Linked DNA regions of Homo sapiens: regions 2 and 3 are each linked to region 1. Evidence: promoter capture Hi-C in human tissues and cell types (Jung and others, 2019). All regions are on one chromosome and are shown on one strand. Each heading gives the region's core, a stretch centred on a gene start or on the middle of the fragment in contact. The rest is flanking DNA. Distances are from core to core; before and after follow the strand shown.

Region 1 (4,247 bases), core at 1,235-3,734:
AGATGCTTTTGCAGATGGAGGCATGCATTTTCCTAGCCACAGCCTTCTCCTTCTCTGCTTTTCTCCAAGGACCCCTGGACTCTCAGAGGTGGTTCTGCATCCCTGGCTTGCCTAGAAATTGCACCAGCCACACTAGTACCAGAGGGCTGGGGGCTGCAGGAAGGTGGAAAGTGTCTTTTAGACAAATGAAAATCAATGAAATACTCAAGTGAATGCTTTCTGCCCTGCCTATGGTGTTAGGCAGCAAGAAAACTGCCTCTTCATTTGCATTAAATTATTAAGTAGCAACATTCCATTAGCAATATTAAGTGGCTATCATTTAACCTAGTTAGTTGCACTTTCAGCTGAGGGTTTTACTCTTCCGAAGCAATAGCACCAGGAAGCCTTCTCCCCTGGTGCCCTGGGTCGGAGCCCTGCCTTCACGCACGGTTACTTTCTGTGAAGCAGGCAGAGTGAAAGGCAGGTCTGATGGACACTTGGAAGCTAGAGTCCCAGCCCCCACTCCCTCTCGTGCAGCCGTGGGCTGGGCAGCCCCTGCAGGCCTCCGCTTACCCCAGCTCATCCTCCTCGATGAAGCCACTTTTGTCCTTGTCCAGCATGTGAAACACCTTCTTCACATCATCCGCACTCTTTTTCTTCAGGCCGACCATTTGGAAGAACTTTTTGTGGTCGAAGGAGTCGGTAGCTGTGGGGGGAAGAGCAGGGTCAAACAAGGACCAGAAAGGCTGGTAGGGAAGCCTGGGAGAATGGGGGGCATCAAGGCATTTGTTGATGGATTCCCACATGCCAGTCATGGGGAATGAGAGGTACCCACCTCCATTGGAGGGCTGAGGGAGCCCGGGCAAGGGAGGATAACCTGTCCAAGGTCACAAGGCTGGGAGTGGAAGAGGTGTGCTCAAACCCAGACCTCCCTGGCTCTCAAGCCCGCCCCCACGCCCCACCTCCACTGCACCCATTGCTGATGATGGGAGCAGCACCTAAGAACCAAAGGCTTTTGTTCTTCTGAGAACCTTGTGCCCAGGAAGACTTTTGAGTGCCAGCTGGTTGGGAGTGGGCTGGGGAATTGAAGGGGGCATGAACATGGTCCTGGGGTTAGGGGGAGGAGGGTTGACCTTCTTTCTTGGCCACAGACTTTGTTGCCAGAAAATTGACATAGAAAGGACAGGTTTCCCTCAAGGTCATACAGTGGGAGGAGGAGGGGCAAACCCGGAAGTCCTGGCTCTGCGCAGAAATCCACTTCGGAGGCAGTGGGAAGGGGGTGTTAGGAGGCTCCCGAGAAACACCCAGTTAAGTTTCTTCCCACATGGGCTTGAGGTGAAGGGAGAGGGTTATCCCAGGACCCTGGGAGGGTGGCTTCCCAGAGAGGTTCTTGTGCCCAGGGGAGGGGGTGCAAAGCAGAAAGGAAATGGGGGTCCTTTTCTACCTGCAATTTTCTGTATCTTGGGGTCCTGTTTTAGAACACCTGGGGAAGGGTACAATGTTAGATCATGTATTTTGTGTGTGTGTGTGTGTGTGTGTGTGTGTAGGGAATGGCTGTTGAAGTCATGTTCTCTTCCCCTCAGCACAGGGCTAGAGACAAGGAAAGTTGCCCTGTCCACCTCCGACACTAGGCTGGGCAACCCAGTTCTAATACCCCTTCTGCCCAGCTAGGTGACCTTGGGCAAATGTCTTGTCCTCTCCAAGACAGTTCCCTGATTTCCCCATCTGGAGGACAGGGGAGGAGGAAGGCGGGCAGCTTAGCGCTGAAGTCCCGGGCAGCTGGGAGAGGTGAGACTGCCAGTTCCCCTCCCCTGCCCGCCTAAGGAGGCTGGAGGTTTGAGGCACTGAGGATGCCCCGTGCGGGCTTAGGCAGAGCTGTGCGCCGGCTCCAGAAGGTCACCTCGCCCGCAGGTCCGTTGCTGAATCTCAGTAAAGGAACTAGGACAGTCAGGGGGCCAACAAAGGCTACCGCCTGGCGGGAAAAGTCCTGTCCAGAATGAGGGTCCAGGAAAGGGGTCTCTTGGAGAGGAGGATGCCCCCTGCAGTCCCCTCTAAGTGCCTTAAAGAGGACGTCCAGAGAGCTCGTACAAGGACCCTGGAGGTCTCTCCTCCGACCCTGGTCTTCGCCCTTGGTCCCGGACCCTGAGTCCTCCCAGCCACCGGGCCTTCAGCACCCTCAAGTTTCTGTAACTTAGGCGGGGCGCCCTCTTCCCCGCCCGCTCCCCGCGCCAAGCCTCGCCCGGACAGAGTTTGGGAACTGCCAAGGACGCCCCCGCCCCGACCTCGCCGGCGCCCAGCGGGAAGTGTGGGCAGAAGCGCGCTGGGGAGGATCCGCCGGCTGCGGGGCCGGCGGAGTGCAGGGGCGCGGGCGGTGGACGAGGGGAGAGGGATGGGGAGGGGAGCGCGCTTGCTCACCGCTAAAGGCTCCCACCGCCTTCTTGATGTCCTCAGCGTTCAGCAAGTCTGTCATCGACATCCTGCAACTGTTTGAGCGGGCAGAGCAAGTGCGAAAAGATTAAAAAGTGCTTTTCTCATCATTTCTGCTCATATGACCAGCGCTGCAGTGCTGCGCGCCGGGCGCACGCCCGCCGGGCCTGGCATGGCGCCAGGGGCCCGGACTCTGAGCGCAGCGGGAGCGGCTCAGTCCAGCCGCGCCGCTGAGCAGCGCCGGCCGCCGGCAAGAAGGCGCGCGGACCTGCTACCACTCCTGCACCGCCAGGCCAGGGGTCCGCGGGATCCCAGGGGCTGCGGCCAGGGCACGAGGGAAGGGGCCACCTCTGGGATTTAGGGGGCACTGGCGTCACCAGCTGGGTCTGGAAAGTCCACCTGCCGTCAAGGACACGCAGGAGGTGCGCCGTCTCAGATCTGGGAACCTTGGCGGATGTCCTGCCGCGTGGGGGAAGATCCTGAACCTTCAGCGGCCAGCCTGCACCTCAGGACCTCCTAGGCCCTGCTCCCTTTCTCTCTCCACTCCTACCTCAGCCTCTGCTCTGGTCTGTCCTGGATGCAAATTTATGCTGCAAAATCTGAGCGCTGAGGTCCTGAAACCTGACCCACCCGACGCAGGGAGGAGGTGGCAGGGACAGGGACAGGGACAGGCAGGAGCTGCTGGGGCCCACTTCGGGTGCCCCATCCCACATCTGGCCAGGGATGCATATTCTAAAACCTGATTTGATGTTTTACTTTTATTTTTTATTTTTTTGCTGGCTTGATTTTTCGAAGAACACTTCTCAGATCTCTACTAACTACTTGCTTTCCTGGTCTCCTGGGTCCTGGCATCATGGGTCCAGACTCCCCCTACTCCTATAAACCTTTTTTGGGCAGAGTAGGGTGGGAGAGTCCGCTTGGAATTGCTATGCTCCCTCCCAGAAAGCCCCATATGTGTTTGGAAGAAGGGTAGCACCTTCAGACCACACTTTCTAGACAACCTAAGCAGGTGTAGGGGTCTGAACTTCACCTCTGGAAAAATGTCACGGTGCCTATCTGTATGCAGCCAGAGACCCGTTGTGTTCTTCCCCATGGTTCCCAAGGTTTCAAGCTGCAACCAGCTGCTTCTAGAGTGTGTGAGCGCTGGACAGGGAGTCAGGAGGCCTGGGTTCTAGATCCTGGGCTGCACTAAGTCCCAGTGTGACCTTGGGTTGTGACCTTCTCTGGGCTTCTGTCTCCTTCTGATGTGTTGATGACGTCAGTGGTCCCATGTAGTGGGACCTGGGGACTGCAACTTAAGGTATTGGCAGGTAGGCAGGGCCTTGGGCTGTGGTGGCCCTGGGTGGTGGGGACCAGGGAGAGCAGCTGTCCAGCTGCCCAGTAACTCAAGTTCCCTGACATCGCTGTCAACATTGTCTCCTGCAGCTCAGCCCTGGATGGCTGCCCTTCCTGGAAACCTTAGGATACCTCTGCTGGCTCCAGCTGCCCCCTCCCTGTGAGTCAGCTCCTTCAAGCCACAGCCCGCCAGATGGCTTCCAAGGCACCAAGGATGCAGCTCCTGACCTGATGCCTCTCAGCTCCAGGACTTCCCAGGACCCCTCAGCTGCCCTGGACCCTGCTGCTACTGCCGTCACCTCTGCACCTTGTCCCCAGCTGGGCTGCTGACTCAGATATGCCAGGCTCCTATGCTATCATTTCAACTCCCAGGCTCAGCTCACTCCAGGAGCCTAGTTGGAGAATGGATTTCCCCAGCTGAAGGACGCTTCAGCTATACCAGTGGAGAAACGGAGGCACAGAGTCCGTGAATGGTCTAAGGACACATGGTAAAGCAATAGCAGAGC
Region 2 (4,247 bases), core at 450-2,949, 360 kb after region 1:
GCCGGCGTCTGAGCACTCACCACCTCTCTCAGGCTTCCCCAGCCCTGTCCCGTACACTTAGTATTCTCTGGGACAACTGCTGCTAATTTCACGTTTTCTGTCCCACTGCCACTTCTCCATGGGTCCTGGTTTGGGGTTCTGAAAATAGCCATGCCCCTGCAGCCTTGGATACCCTGAAGTCCTCAGTGGGGTAAGAGAGAAGGGCTTTTGCATCTGATATTACAGATAAGGACAATATGGGGCCCAAAAAGGCTAAACGATTTACCCAGCACCCTCCAGTCCTCCAGCCAAACAAGGGACTCTCCTGGGCAGAGCTGCCACAGGAGCCCACCTCCTGGCACCCCGGCCTGCTGGCTTCCCACTGGCTAACGAAAGCCTTGTGGGAGAAACACCCTGGTAGACCCTTAATCCAAGCTGGACCCCGTCCCCCCAACAACCCCCAGCTGCCCTCCTGCCTCCTCTCTGCTGTTGAATCTCTCACCAACTTCAAAGTCAATTGGGGACATGCCTCCCCCTCCAGGATGACATCATGATTCACCCAGTTTCTAGGCGTTCTATGTCCTCCCCTGGACCATGGCACAGGCCCCCTCACTGCCTCCAGCTTCACCCTCTGCAGCCTGTGCTCCACCTGGCTGCAGAGTGATCTGCCTCTTAAAGGCACCCCAGCACCTAAGAAAGAGGTCAATCCTAGACTTAGCCTGACATTCCAGGCCTTTCCTGTCTCAAACCCCATTCTGCTCTCCTTGCCTCCTTTCCAGACATCTATCCAACCTACTGGTCTCTCCCACTGCCCAGAGCATAGACTACATTGGTCCGCCTGCAACCCTTTCCTCTCATCAGCTCCTTGCCCCATGTCAAGTGCCTTTGAGACTCCTATTCACCCTCCAAGGCCCTTCCCACATGTCCCCTCCACTAAGAAGCCTTCCCAGATCGCCACATAAGAATTATCTACTCCCTTCCCCACACTCCCATGTGGCAGAGGAGCTCCTGCGCTCATCTCCCCAGGAAGGCTGAACACTTCCAGACACAACCTAACCTAGCCCATGAAATGGATCCAGCCCATCTATCCAGACAGCAGGTCACCAGGGACACCATCAAGCTAAAATCCCTGCACCAGCTCTGCCCCTGATTTTAACTCAGGCTCCCATCTAATCACCCTTTCCCCCTTAATCTTCCCTGCACTTGCCCCGGGCCACTCAACAAAACGATGGCAAGGTGGGGGTGAGGTCGCCCTGTCTGGGGTACACTCCTTGTCAGGGGTATTTTTCATTTCCCACGGCTGCTTCCCCTCTTGACCACCCTTTCCTTCCCCTTCCTCATTGCCTAACGTTTCAGGCGGAAAACGTTTTCAAAATATGTAACTTAAAGGGATTGCCCCAGAGGTGATTACATGGGCATTCAGCCAGCTTGCTGAGGTCATCAGTACTAAGCATGGCAGATCTCCTGGGGGACGCTGTGCCCCACAGACCTGGCAGCAGGATTGGGGGCCTCCAGTTTCCCAGGACCTTTGACCAACCCCCGCCAAGAACGTGCCCATTGGGAGAAGCTTGTCACAAAGATCTAGTGGCTCTTAGCACCCATCCGGGTGCCATTGAGTCAGAAACCCAGACCTAGCGCAAAAAAACCTGGCCTAGACAGTCCAGAGGCCACATCTGAGCCCTGGGTGGAGGAATGTGTGCAGTGGGTCAGATGGGATGACACAAAGACAGCCGGCCTCTGTTCCCTGAACTAATGTGGCCTGGAACTGTCTGGGGGACTTGGCTTCAGTTTACAAAGGATAAGCTTCAATCCTCCTGCAGGCACTTGGCAAGAAGTTTCAAAGCTTTGCTGCCTCAGCGATCAGCAAATGGCTCATCCTTGTGCTGTACACGACAAAAGGCTCCTGGCTGGCACTCAGGACAGCCTTTGTCCCAAGGCTGGTGAGGCCGATTGTGTACAAATAGAGCCTGGCCCAGAAACACGCTGGAGATCGCTCCCCGGGGTAGCCTCTGACATGGGAGGAGCCTCTTTGGCAAGAGCTGTATGACCCTGAGGTGCAGTGGGAAGCCTCCCTTCAGTGTCAGGGGACCTCCGAGGAAACGGAGACCTGTCTGCCCCTGCAAGGTGGGCTGCTGGGCTGGGCTGAATCCTGGCACAGGTGTATGGTCAGTTCTCGATAGCATGCTTCTTCCACCTGGTGCCCAAAAGCCATGCAACACACCAGGGACAACACAGATAGAGCAGGATGCCCGGTCAAGTCTGTTGGGAAATCAGCGTCGGTCACTTTAAATATACTTATGTGAGTAGCCACCAGGCTAGCCTAGAGAGTCCAAACTTGACGACATATTAGAAAGCCAGGCCGGGCACGGTGGCTCACGCCTGTAATCCCGGCACTTTGTGAGGCCGAGGTGGGCAGATCACAAGGTCAGGAGTTCAAGACCAGCCTGGCCAACATGGTGAAACCCCCATCTCTACTAAAAATACAAAAATTAGCTGGGCGTGGTGGTGGGCGCCTGTAATCCCAGCTACTCGGGAGGCTGAGGCAAGAGAATCACTTGAACCTGGGAGGTAGCGGTTGCAGAGAGCCAAGATTGCGCCACTGTACTCCAACCTGGGTGACAGAGAGACTCCATCTCAAAAAAAAAAGAAAGCCAGATCCATCAAGATGCTCCACTGTACAATGTAGTAGTGTGTGTTTTCCCACAGAGAAGATCCAACAGTTCTCTCATCATAATTAAACGCAAAACATGCGACAGGGTCCCCGGGGCGGGAGGTGGGGGGGCTTGCGTGTGCCTCACTGGAGCATAAACGGCACAGGTGCTCAGCTCTGCGCCACACAGTTGGCGCTCAGCAGATGCTGAGCATGAACGCGGCACTCATCAAGCAACCTGGCATCTGATCCTTATGTCCACCGCATGAGGTAGATTACCATTGTCCCCATTTTACAGACAGGAAACCGAGGCGCAGAGATATGGGGACTTGCCCGAGGTCACAACCAAAGAGTGACACGGCTGACTCTATGCTGGTGCCACTAGCTCCAAGGCGCGCCAGCTGCGTGAGTGACCTGGGGGCTCGCTTCTTTGTGGGCAGGGAGCACGCAGAGTGGGCAGAGGGAGCCGAGCAGAAAGAACCAGTCTGAATCGCCAAGAGGAGACAGCATTCTTTAATCATGCTGGACGGCAGGGCGTGGCGGGGTCAGGCAGGGGCAGGATCAGGCAGGGTGGTTTATAGCACAGGTCTTCCTGGCACTTGGTCAGACCCTGTTTCCGTCATCTGGCCATGGAGCCACGGCTCCTCGGCTGTGAGCACCAGAGATCACCCCCCGGGGCACCTCAGCCCCAGAGTCTGCATGAGCACCAATGGGCGGAGGCCGCCTCCCTCTGGGGAGAAGGGCAGGCCACCTGGGTTTGGAAGGCTAGGGGAACACCAGGCCACCCCACCCTGGAAGAAGAAACGGAAGGCCTGAGGTCCCTCCTTTGCTCTAGCTCCCCAGACCTGCTGAGGGCTCTAAAGCCTGGGGCTTCCGTGGCCCTTCTCCTGCAGGTGTTTGTAAAGGCAGCACCAGGCCGGAGGAGGGCTCTGAGACGAGGAGCTGCCCACCCGGGCCTTAGCACCTTGATAAAGCCTGGAGAGTCGGGGCACTGGGCCGGTGAGAGGGGCATGAGGGGCAGAGAGCACCTGGGGACAGACATCAGTGTCTGAGGGCAGCTGGAGGCCCTGGGGAAACGGAAGTTCAGATGACTTTGGTGGAAGGGACTGAGCAAGGCCCTGGCAGAGCCCTGGGAGGAGGCAGGAAGGGGATCCCAGTGAGGAGGGCAGGTCTTCTCGCAGGATGCCGTATCAGCTGTGGGGAGAGCTATGGGTGTGGGTTCCATTCTTCGGGGGCCACTTCACCCCCCAAATGCCCCCACACTCCTGGGTCCTCTCCTCACAGAACCCTTGACCTGGCCAAGGCCCCCTGGGGTTTGCTGTAACGATGAGCACTGGGCAGGTGGATGAGGAACGGGAAGGAGATACCTGCCCCTGCCACCGGGACCCCGTCCCACCAGCCTTGGGGAGCAGTGGGTAATGGAGGACCAGCAGCACCTGAACACCCAGAACACAGGCCCCCATGAGCTCTGGGTCTGCTTTAAAACCTATGTACACATCTCTCCCCGCCTGGGCTGGACTGGCCAGTCACTGAGGGCAGGGGCAGGGCCTGTGTCTGACCCCCTCACCCTTCCCGGGACCCAGCACAGAGTGAGTGCTCAGTGTTTAATGAATGAATA
Region 3 (4,247 bases), core at 767-3,266, 290 kb after region 1:
TCTTTGCTGAATGGGAGGTTTGCTCCTTGCTGGGCCTGGGATGTTTTCCTTTCTGCTGGCCTCGTGGCTCCCTCCTTTACCTCCTCCAAAGGGTCAGATGTCACCTCTCCAGAGAGGCCTTCCCTGGGCACTCCCGTCTCTCCTGCATTTTTCTTTATAGCAATTACAGAGGCCTAAATTGCCTGATATGCAAATATGTCATTTATCTGCCTCCTCCCTGTCTGTAAGCTGCATGAGAGCAGAGTCTGGTACTCAGCGGACACTCAGTAATTGTTAAATGAATGAATGACAAGGTCCCAGCTCCTTCCTCCCTACAGAAGTCCAAGGTGCTGTGTGCATATGTGGCCTGGCCAACTTCTCCTGCCTCCTTTTTTCCCACCCTCTCTTTTCCCCGTCGCACCCCAAGGACACTGGACTTCCATTGGTGAGAAATTTTAACAATGGGATGGTAGCAAACATTTATGGATTAAGAGCAGCCAGCCGGCACCAAGAGCCCTCGTGGACCTTGAGCCCTGTCAGTGCTTGTTCACGGCCAGGCGTCCCCACACTCTTCCTTCTGCCTGGGCCCCCACCTCCCAACCTGGCCAGCTCTTATGCAGCCCCTGTCACCTCAGTTCAGACCTCACCTCTTCGCAGCTCTCCCAGAGTGCCCTAGAAGGGGCGGCTGCCCCTCGCGATGTGCAGCTTACCTGTGGGCACTCTCTCTTTGCCCCTCACATTGAACTCCTGGAAGCGGGGACTGTGCTCCAATTGCCACAGGGGCCTGAAGCAGTCCCCCAGCTCTGAGCACCATGGACCCCACCCTGGCACCTGCTCCTCACTCCCTCCTGCCCTTCTGGCCATTGGAGGGTCTCGGGTCTGCCTGCTGGAGGCTGAGCTCCTTGGGGCGGGGCCGCGACTCCCCCAGCAATGCAGATCCGGATTCAACCACTGCGTATGAACTCCTACCATGTGCCAGCCCTGTGCTGGGCAGTGCTGCAAACTCCACTGCAGCCTCCAACAGCCTGGGGTGCCTACTTTGCTGACTCTATTTAATGGCTGGGGAAACTGAGGTAGAGAGAGGTAACATGACTTACCCGAGGTCCCTCAGCCAGGGCAGAGCAGAGCAGAGCAGGGACTCTGGGCTAGGGCCATAGGGGCATCTTTCAGTGAAACCATTAGGCCCTAGAGTCCTGAGAGTGTGGGGGACTGGGTGGGGGTCCCTTCCACACATATAAACACACTCACAGACCCACAGATGTACACAGATGGAGACACGCGGAGGGATATACGCACATCTATTCATGACACAAAAATTCATAGATGCACGCCCTTCCTACACAGACACACACACGAACACACATACACATACATGCCAACTCTGAGCCTGTGAGCCCAGGGTCCTGGGCTTAAGTCAGTACATAGGTGCAATGTGGGGCTCCGGGCCTGTCTCCTACACCAGAAGGCCCAGGTGGGGTACCGGGTGTGGAGGGGGCAGCATGTCCAGTCCTGCGAGGCAGGGGTAGGGTGGCCTCTCCCTTCCTCCTGTCCCTGCCACCTGAATCCCAGGCCACCAACCACCCAGCACTGATGCTGTGCCTGTCCACACACCTGGTGTCACCCTGCGTGGTCCCTCCCCTCCCCAGCTCTGTGGGCCCCTCACCTTCTGCTCACTGATCACCCTCTGGCCGATGAGGCCCTGCAGGCCTGGCCTCGGAGCAGGGTAGGTGGCTCAGGCTGCAGGGAGCCAGGCCCAGCTCTTAGGGTGGACACTGTCACTAGGTCATTTATAGATCCCGGTCCCCTGTCCTGGAGGCCCCCGCTTACCTTTGGGAGCGGCAGATAGGTGCCGGGCCTGCACACAGGCCTCAGGAGCCTCTGTTTGTCCAGGCCAAGGCCTCCCCACCCCCACCCAGCCAGCCCAGGCTGGATCAATGGCCTAGAGCCATGACCAGGGTGTCTGGCCCTTGTCCCCTGTGGCCTGTGGCCTCAGGCTCCATGGAACTCCTCCTGCTGGGTCCTGGACAGCACTGTGACTAAGTACAGGTAAACAGGCAGGAGGTAGGAGAAGGCAGTGCCTGCCCCGCCCCATCTTCCCCCACCCCCGCATGGGCACCCCAGAGGCTGGCAGGCAGGTGCGGGAGATCTGAGCTCTCCCCCGAGGCCCGTTGCCTGGTGACATGCCTGCCTGGTTACAGCCCCTGGTCCCCGAGAGCATGAGGTAGGGACAGCCAAGGACTGGGGACTGTGCAGAGGCCGGTGCAGGTGAGTGCAGGGGCTCACAAGGGTGAGTCCAGGTGCTTACCTGGACAGGCGAGACTAAAGGAGCTGCTGGCCTGAGAGAGAGAAAAGGAGGCTGGGCCCATATACTCTGGGGACTGGAGAGGAGAAAGGGGAGGCAGGGGTGGGGTTTGATGCTATTTTCTGTTTAGCTGGGAATTATTTGAATTCCTACCTCGTTCTTTTTTTTTTTTTTTTTTTTTTTTAAGATGGAGTCTCACTCCGTCACCCAGGCTAGAGTGCAGTGGTGTGATTTCGGCTCACTGCAACCTCCGCCTCCCGGGTTCAAGCAATTCTCCTGCCTCAGCCTCCCAGGTAGCTGGGATTACAGCGCCCACCACCATGCCCGGCTAATTTTCATAATTTTAGAAGAGATGGGGTTTCACCATGTTAGCCAGGCTGGTCTCGAACTCCTGACCTCAAGTGATTCCACCCACCTCGACCTCCCAAAACGCTAGGATTACAGGCATGAGCGACCGCACGCAGCATGAATTCCTACCTGGTTCCGTAGCGCTGTGCTGTCCATGACGGTAGCCGCTGGTCACCCGTGGCTCTTGAGTCAGTCTGAACTGAGAAAAGCTGCACGGGGGAGACGCACACCAGGTTTCCAAGGCCAAGTGCAAACAGGATGTCAACCAACGCGATAACAATTTTTATATTGATTTTATGTTGAAATAACACTGGTGATCATGGGATAAATAAAATGTATTATTAAAAGCAATTTTCTTCTGGCTCTCTTGTTTTTTTTTTTTTCAGAGACAGGGTCTCATTAGGTTGCCAGGCTGGTCTGGAGCTCCTGGGCCCACATGATCCTCCTGCTTCAGCCTCCCAAGTAGCTGGGATTACAGGCGCGGGCCACCACACCCCTTGTTGCATGTGGATATTAGACAGGTTAAGTCACAAGTGTGACCTGCGTTGTTGTTCTATGGAACAGCGTTGCTGTGGAGATGGGTTTGAGCCATATGCGTGCCGAAGTGCCGGATGGGAGCCAGGGCTTTCTAGGGTGCGTGCAGGGCAGCGGGCGTCTGTCTCAGACAAGGCTGACTTTCAGCGAGTCTACATCCTGAGGCCAGAATGCGGGGTGCACGCCTGAGATGCTGTGTGCTGTGGGCATATGGGTCCCAGAGTGTGTGTGTAAGAGAGACAGTCTGGAATTTGTGTGTGTAGATTATGTATGTGTAGAATGTGCGTGTGTGTGTGTGTGTGTGTGTGTGGAGCGTAGGGATTGTGTGTGGGGTATAAGATTTGTGTGAGAGGTGTGTCTGTGAGGTTTGTATGGTGTGGGGTGGGGGGTGTGTGAAGTGTGTTGTGTGGGCATATGGACTGTGCATGTGTGTGCAGTGTGGGTGCTGGGAATGTGCAGTGTAAGGTGTGTGTGTCTTTGAGGTACGTATGGTGTGAGGTGTGTATGGAGCATGAGAGGTGTGTGCAGCTGTGTGTGTGTGTGTGTGCATGCTCACAGTATGTGTGGAATATGAGGCATGTGTTTAGTGTGAGGTGTGTGCATAGTGTGAGGTGTGTGTGTAGTGTAAGGTGTATGTAGTGTGAAGCATGTGTGGAGTGTGAAGCGTGTGTGTAGTGTGAGACGTGTGTGGAGTGTGAGGTGTGTGTGGAGCGTGAGGCATGTGTGGAGTGTGAGGCGTGTGAGTGGAGTGTGCAGCGGGTGTGAAGTGTGAGATGCTTATGGATTGGCTGGGATGGGACAGGGCCCCGCGCCCGGGCTTTGCCGTGACCGCCGGTTTTCAGCCCTACCTGGCTCCCTTTTAGTTGTAGGAACCTGGGCAGATTCCCTGACTTCTGAGCGGTGCTTCTTCCATCTGTCGAATGAAAAAAATTCGCCCCTTCTTGATGAACGGGAAACAACGTGTGCGAAGGCCCAGCACTGTGGGGGGCGCCGAGAGCGGGTTTCTCCTCTTCTCATGGTGACACGCTGGTGTGTCGGGGCCAGGTGTGCCTGTGCACTGAAGTCCAGGCAATGACAGGTGGCA

The links. Contacts are between HindIII fragments. The study calls those that stand out against the background at their distance.
Region 2: a fragment that was not itself captured here is called in contact with the fragment with the promoter of PVALB in region 1 in 1 of the 25 tissues and cell types used here (H1 embryonic stem cells).
Region 3: the fragment with the promoter of TMPRSS6 here is called in contact with the fragment with the promoter of PVALB in region 1 in 2 of the 25 tissues and cell types used here (adrenal gland and lymphoblastoid cells).

The regions. Positions count from the first base shown.
Region 1 is chr22:36,814,551-36,818,797 of GRCh38, forward strand. PVALB (parvalbumin) reads right to left here and starts at 2,485. Exons shown (of 4, transcript NM_001315532.2): 1 at 2,395-2,485; 2 at 553-685. The coding sequence starts at 2,455. The HindIII fragment of the contact is 41,984 bases long and covers 1-4,247 here.
Region 2 is chr22:37,177,045-37,181,291 of GRCh38, forward strand. The region is part of intron 1 of IL2RB-AS1 (IL2RB and C1QTNF6 antisense RNA 1); the gene reads left to right. It overlaps C1QTNF6 (C1q and TNF related 6), which reads right to left. Exons shown (of 3, transcript NM_031910.4): 3 at 3,122-4,247. Among named protein-coding and RNA genes, the nearest start is that of C1QTNF6, 9.1 kb to the right of the region's middle. RefSeq lists enhancers at 2,582-3,442, 3,443-4,247. The HindIII fragment of the contact is 3,359 bases long and covers 21-3,379 here.
Region 3 is chr22:37,107,697-37,111,943 of GRCh38, forward strand. TMPRSS6 (transmembrane serine protease 6) reads right to left here and starts at 2,017. Exons shown (of 18, transcript NM_001374504.1): 1 at 1,807-2,017. RefSeq lists an enhancer at 247-748. The HindIII fragment of the contact is 35,568 bases long and covers 1-4,247 here.